Linked DNA regions of Homo sapiens: region 2 is linked to region 1. The links are contacts of gene promoters, found by promoter capture Hi-C in blood cells and fetal thymus (Javierre and others, 2016). All regions are on one chromosome and are shown on one strand. Each heading gives the region's core, a stretch centred on a gene start or on the middle of the fragment in contact. The rest is flanking DNA. Distances are from core to core; before and after follow the strand shown. Region 1 holds the start of TASL (TLR adaptor interacting with endolysosomal SLC15A4). Region 2 overlaps IL1RAPL1 (interleukin 1 receptor accessory protein like 1).

Region 1 (3,323 bases), core at 248-2,747:
AAAATTAAAATACAAAATTTTAAAAAGAAATATTCTATTACATAAGCATGTATATACATATATTCCTTAAAAATACAAACTGGAAAATGAGTTCTTGCTAAACAATATATGTTAGAGATCTTTTTTTTTCTTTTTTTTTTTTTTTGAGATGGAGTCTCGCTCTGTCACCCTGGCTGGAGTGCAGTGGCACAATCTCAGCTCACTGTGACCTCCACCTCTCGGGTTCAAGGGATTCTCATGCCTCAGCCTCCGAGTAGCTGGGATTACAGGTGCCCACCACCACGCGTGGCTAAGTTTTGTATTTTTAGTAGAGACAAGGTTTCACCATGTTGGCCAGGCTGGTCTCAAACTTCTGACCTCAAGTGATCCACCTGCCTCGGCCTCCCAAAGTGCTAGGATTACAGGCGTGAGCCACCGCACACAACCTACATAGGATTTTAAGTATGCATACGTTCTCATTTACTTGGCCAATATCTTATTTATGGATATAATTTTTTCTAGTCATTTATTTTCTCAAGCAATGCTGCAACAAATATCTTTTCACATAAGTCTTTGTGTACAAGTGTAAACATATAGCTTGGACAAATTTATAAAAAATACAATTGTTGGGTCAAAGGGTATGAATATTTGTATTTGAGAGATACTGGGAAATTGCCCTCTAAATATGTTTACAATCTCATCAGTAGTGTTTGAGAGTGCTTGTTTCTTCACAACTTTGCCCACACCATGTATTATTGTTTTGACCTTCGGTATTTGGAGAGGGAAAACTTTTTTCTTTTTTTTTTCTTTTGAGACGGAGTCTCGCCCTGTCGCCCAGGCTGGAGTGCAGTGGCGCGATCTCGGCTCACTGCAAGCTCCACTTCCCGGGTTCACGCCATTCTCCTGCCTCAGCCTCCCGAGTAGCTGGGACCACAGGCGCCCGCCACCGCGCCCGGCTAATTTTTTGTATTTTTAGGAGAGACGAGGTTTCGCCGTGTTTGCCAGGATGGTCTCGATTTCCTGACCTCCTGATCCACCTGCCTCGGCCTCCCAAAGTGCTGGGATTACAGGCGTGAGCCACTGCGCCCGGCCGAGAAAATTTTTTTCATTTACATTTTTAAAAATTATAAGTACCATTGAGAAATAATACTTCTTAAAAATTATAGATTAGTAACGAAACAGAATTTCCTAAAGTCATATGTGACTTTGGCTTTCTTTTGGGTGAAGGATCCCAGATAATGTACTTTTCTAGAAAGGAAATTTAATTCTGTTGCTAGGGTTCTTACAAAATGTGTAACCATAAACTATTTTAATAAGAGACAGTTTCGTAGATAGGTTTCATTTTTCGAAAAAGGGGAAGAAACACCATTCTGTGGCTTGATGTGGCTTTGTCAGTTACTGCCTCCCCACCTCCCGGGACTTCCCACTGCCTCTTTAGCACAAATCGGACTTGAACAAAAACAACTCTTTTTCCATGGGACCAATTATAAAAAGAATGGCTTTGCACTGAGCAGCTCAGTCTACTGGTCTCATCAGTGAAAGGCTTGTGAAAATTTCTGGAAAGAGCATTGGCTGGCTTGTTCATCTCTCTGTTTGGTCAGTTGCTGTGTTTCTGCCGGATCAGATGAGCAGATTGGTTAGTGAAGGTAAGAAAAAGAAAGCAAAGGACCCTAGAACTCCGCTATTATTTTTTGTCATCTGTCTTCTCACGCTTTCTTAGCCCTTTATCACGAGAGCGCTGATCCATTCTTATGACATCTAAAATGCTTTTCTAGCTTACCATATCAGAGACAAGTGGGAGTTTAAACAAGCATTCAGTGGAGTTGAAAAATAAAGAGAAATTAAGCCCAATACTTCCTTTCCTTACCTCCTCGTGTCCACATTCTAAGCATTTCTAAAACACTTATATTTTTACCTACAATTTTTGACTGATCTGAGCAAATATTTATTGTGTTATTTTTGCAGTCCTCTTTCACTAATTGCCACACTGGTTTAGCTTCTGCATTTTTAAAAGAAGGCCTAAAAACCTAAGCAGGGTTTTGCAGGGACAACACAGCTCTTGAATTCAGTTACGGTGATGCAGTTTTAGAGACGAAAACAATCACAGTCCTTTCCAATTGGATTTGACTCTCAATTATTCAGTTCAGCAAGCTTGTGATAGTGTTTTTCTGTGTGGCAGGATGTATTCAAAATGAATGCGATCTATAGTGAGGATGCTTTTCGACTTTCATCTGGGTGATTTGGGGAAAGCTTCCCTTTTGGTATTAAAGATAGCGCATGTACGAGTGGAGTTTTGTTTGAATTATCTTTAGACTCGCTCAAACATTCTTTGTCTTGCGCATATGAATCTGTGCTTAAATATAGACCTGGTTTGGACAGAATATTTATATTGATATTTTATAACATTTCTTGCATAGGTCAGTGTGAGAAGAAGATTGTTTCTGAGCTTGAGAAGCTTCTGGAGGATTGAAGAGTATTTGAAGTCTGTGTCAAACATCCATATCATAAGTGGAATTTTGGAGATATTCAAAGGTAGTACACTAATTCTATTATCTCAGAGCAAAATGATGTTTGAAGTATTTATATCAAGTCACTGAGACATTTCTCATCTCATATGTAGTGATTATTTTAGATATATAAGATATTGTCCCTCTAGGCTCTTAATAAACATTATACAATGTAAATATGCCTTCATTAACTAAATATGGTTTTTTCCCCCTCCCAATTTTTATTTAGAAATGTTTCAAATCTATATAAAAATTGAAAGAATAGTACAACGAACACCCATATTTTCATCATGTGTATTAATCAGTGGTATCTTTTTGCCACATTTACTTTCTCTCTCGCTTTGTCTTTCTCTGTCTCTGCCTGTCCTTTTCTCTCTCTCTATATGTGTATATATATATTCACACACACGCATGCACATATGCACAGTTTTTTCCCTGAATGGTTTGAAAGTATGTTGCTGACTTTAGGACACATGTCACCCCTAAATTCTTGAGCATGTATCTCCTAAAAATAAAGGCAGTCTTCTATAACACATTACAACACCACGGAAACATAACATCAACACAATACTATTATCTAAGATGTGATACACATTCAAATTTTCCTAATTATCCACATGTCCTTTAGAATCTTTTTATGTTTTAAATCCAGGATCCAATCAAGAATCTTGCATTGCATTTGTAGTTGACATGCCTACAATTAAGTAAATGTTAATGAAATTGGCATAATTAACATGATTAACAATGATTAACAATTATAACACCAAAGAAATTTATATCAGTACAATACTATTATGATAGGTTTCTTATTTTTTTAGTCCTCTCATTTTGCATCAA
Region 2 (3,323 bases), core at 384-2,883, 1.1 Mb after region 1:
CTTTAATGTGCCTACAGATTCCATGGGGATCTTGTTAATACTCTTGTTGAGCAGATTTGGGGATGCTGCTGATGCTGCTGGCTCCTGCTCACACTTTGAGTCGCCAGGGCCTGTTCTGCCTAATGAGAACTAAATGCTTGATGACTTCAAAGAAGTGTGATGACATCAAGGAGAAACTTGCTCTAATTCACAATTTTGACAAGAACAGACACTAACCACAAAAATCAAAAAGCGTAAATTGCAAGGGTTAATTGTAAAAAGGCTTTAGGTTAAAAGGAAGTCCTTTCATGCTATTTGTGGTACATATAGCATGAAAGGACTGTGGACACCATGGAGAAAGTGAATCACAGGAAGTTTCAGAGTCCTGTGATAAAGATTTTCACAATTAAGAGTGGGGTTAAAGGAGCACAGTACTTGAAATCACATAGACCCAAGACAGAATCCTCTTTGACACTGACTCAGGCTACCTAGGAGGAAGAATAGTACTACATACCTTGCAGAGGTGTATGAGTCTTAAATGGATTAGTGTTTGTAAAATCCCTAGTGTCCCACCTGGCACACATCAAGCGTTCAAACAAATGCTAGCTATTATTTTCCACTCAGCAAGTATTAACAGACATCTCTTAAGTGAAGTTTTATGTGCTTTGCCAAATGCATCATTCAGTTTCTACTCATTTGGAGATAATAAAACTATAGGCAAAGGATTATTTTTCTTTCATTTCATGATGCATACTGTAATATTTATTATAATAAAGTAAAATACTTCTGCAGCTCATTTTGGTTATTTTTCTAAAGTACACCTAGTATTAGGTAGAATTAAATTTCAGAAATCATTATTTGAACTTTGTCAGAAAAAAATGCTAACAAGATTTTCCCAATATTAAAATAGCTTCAGAATAATAATCTAATTCTTGAATTCAGGAAAACGCTTACACAATGGTTTTTACCTTCAGTTTGTGTTAATCCTTTAGTGATTGTACAGGCATTTATTTTGTAGTGTATCATTTAGGTCTGAGGGTAAGGGTCATCTCTCCAGAGAAGTCTCCTGATTATCCTACTTAATGTTGTTCCTTCCCCCATTGTTTACTCTCTCTTCTTTTATTCCATAACACTAATCTCAACCTGACTGCATATTATTTATTTTGCATTTGCTTTGCGTTCTGTCTTCCCCACTAAAAAGGAAGCATAAGGAAGCCAAAGCCTTATCTAGAATATGCCCATGATATATGTTCCTGCCTCAGGACATTTGCACCTGTCTTTACCTCTGTCACCGATTTCAACATGCACTTTCTCACTTCCTTTAACTCTCTACTCAGATACCAGTTTCTTCCTGGAACACTGTATCTGAAATAACAATAACCATTCTTCCCCTCTGGTACCTCCTACCTCCTTTATTTTGTTGCATCAGTCTTCATGTCACTTATTATGATCTAATATAGTATTTTTTGCTCGTTTATTGTGTGCTATGGTGTGAATGTGTTCCCCAAACTTTATGTGTTGGAAACTTAATTCCCAAATTCATATGTTGATCGTATTTGGAGGCGGGGATTTTGGGAGGTAATTAGGATTAGATAAAGTCAAAAGGGTGAGCCCCCATGATGGGACTGGTGGCTTTATAGGAAGAAGAAAGATCTTGCCCTGTCACCATGTGATACCCTTCGACATATTATCACATAGCAAGATGGCTCTCACCAGATGCCAGCACTATGCTGTTAAAATTCCCATCCTCCAGACTATGAGCTGAATAAACTTTTTTGAAAATAAATTACCCTGTCTGTGGTATTTTGTTATAGTAACAGAAAATGGACTAAGACATTGTGTTTCTTTCTTTCTCCAAGAAAAGCAAGATCCAGTAGGAGAAACAAGTATATTTTATCCCTAGCACCTACAACAGTACCTGTTACAAAGTAGGTGCTCAATGAGTTTTTTTTTTTTTTTTTTTTTAATGGACTACTGGGCCAGGTGCAGTGGCTCACGCCTGCAGTACTATCACTTTGGGAAGCCAAAGCGGGTGGATTGCTCGAGGCCAGGAGTTCAAGAGCAGCCTGGGCAACATGGCAAAACACAGTCTTTACTAAAAAATACAAAAATCAGCCACGTATGGTGGCGTGTGCCTGTAGTCCCAGCTACTCAAGAGGCTGAGGTGGAAGGATGGCTTGAGCCCAGGAGGTAGAGGTTGCAGTGAGCTGAGATCGTGCCACTGCACTCCAGCCTGCTGAGTGACAGAGCCGGGCCCTGTCTTAAAAAAAAAAAAAACTACTACTACTGTAGTACTTTCTGCTAGAGCTCCCAACAATATTACATGCTCATGCTTATGTTATATATCATAAGAATAATTTATTTCTATCTTAGTGTCTATTAGTTATAGCTTCACAGTTGTAGTCTCACTAAGGAAGGTTACTTCCCTCTTATAATTTTAACTTCTGTGTGGTGCCGAATATACTACTGTAATGCAAAGAAACAAACCGCCTAGAAAATAGCATCGCAGAACGTATGACTTTGTCTCTAATATGGTAGCATACGGACATCACCAACATGATATTTTTCACACGGGCTACCTGGGTACCATACTTCCCAGGATAGAGAGTGAAATTAATCCACGTGGAAGGCCATACATTACTTCCTCAAGTTTACTGAAGCCTTTGCCCATTTTAATTCAGTTCAGTAACTCTCCATTCTGAGATCAAGAGGCTTTCTATCATTTTTGGAATGAAATTTCAGACTCTAAACATATGGGCTTCCAAAATATGTCAGTGGAGAACAAGAGGATTTCAATTACAGTGGCTAAAATAGCTCTGAAAACTGCACTATATTTAGGAATATAGTGTTTTATCCCACTGGCATCTTCTAAATTATTCCATTTTCTTCTCAGATATATCAGAAGGAAACAAGATATAATGAAGGATGTTCACTGGAGTTGAATAAAGGAACTGATCTTTTTAACTTTGGCATCAGATAAAAGCCATTATCTTGAGGACAGAGTAAGGCATGTCTTTCTAACGTAAACACAAATACCCTAATATTGTTGCTTAAGATGTGGAAGCTCTTCACTTTAAGACCATTATCTTAGTCTTATCAGAATCGATGGAATAAAATGAGTATTTAAAATATATTACAAGGAATGACCATGTGTTGGTAATTATTGTACCTGGGTGATGGGTACAGGAAGGTTCATTATACTGTATGATCTACCTTTGTATGTTTGGAAAGTCCCGTAATAAAAGTTGAAATGTATTATAAACAAAAAATGGAATGACATAAATGTATGAAAATCAGGAACTATGCTTTATCCACAAAATGAAATTCTATGCAGCTTTTAAAAA

What was found. The method cuts DNA at HindIII sites, captures the fragments that hold promoters and counts their contacts. A CHiCAGO score of 5 or more calls a contact.
Region 2: a contact is called between a fragment that was not itself captured here and the fragment with the promoter of TASL in region 1, in 1 of 17 cell types (M1 macrophages). The highest score is 5.9, in M1 macrophages.

The regions. Positions count from the first base shown.
Region 1 is chrX:30,575,940-30,579,262 of GRCh38, reverse strand. It overlaps TASL (TLR adaptor interacting with endolysosomal SLC15A4), which reads left to right and starts at 1,497. Exons shown (of 3, transcript NM_025159.3): 1 at 1,497-1,625; 2 at 2,397-2,511. RefSeq lists an enhancer at 1,266-1,475. The HindIII fragment of the contact is 8,514 bases long and covers 1-2,132 here.
Region 2 is chrX:29,482,626-29,485,948 of GRCh38, reverse strand. The region is part of intron 5 of IL1RAPL1 (interleukin 1 receptor accessory protein like 1); the gene reads right to left. Among named protein-coding and RNA genes, the nearest start is that of MIR4666B, 90 kb to the left of the region's middle. The HindIII fragment of the contact is 3,746 bases long and covers 1-3,323 here.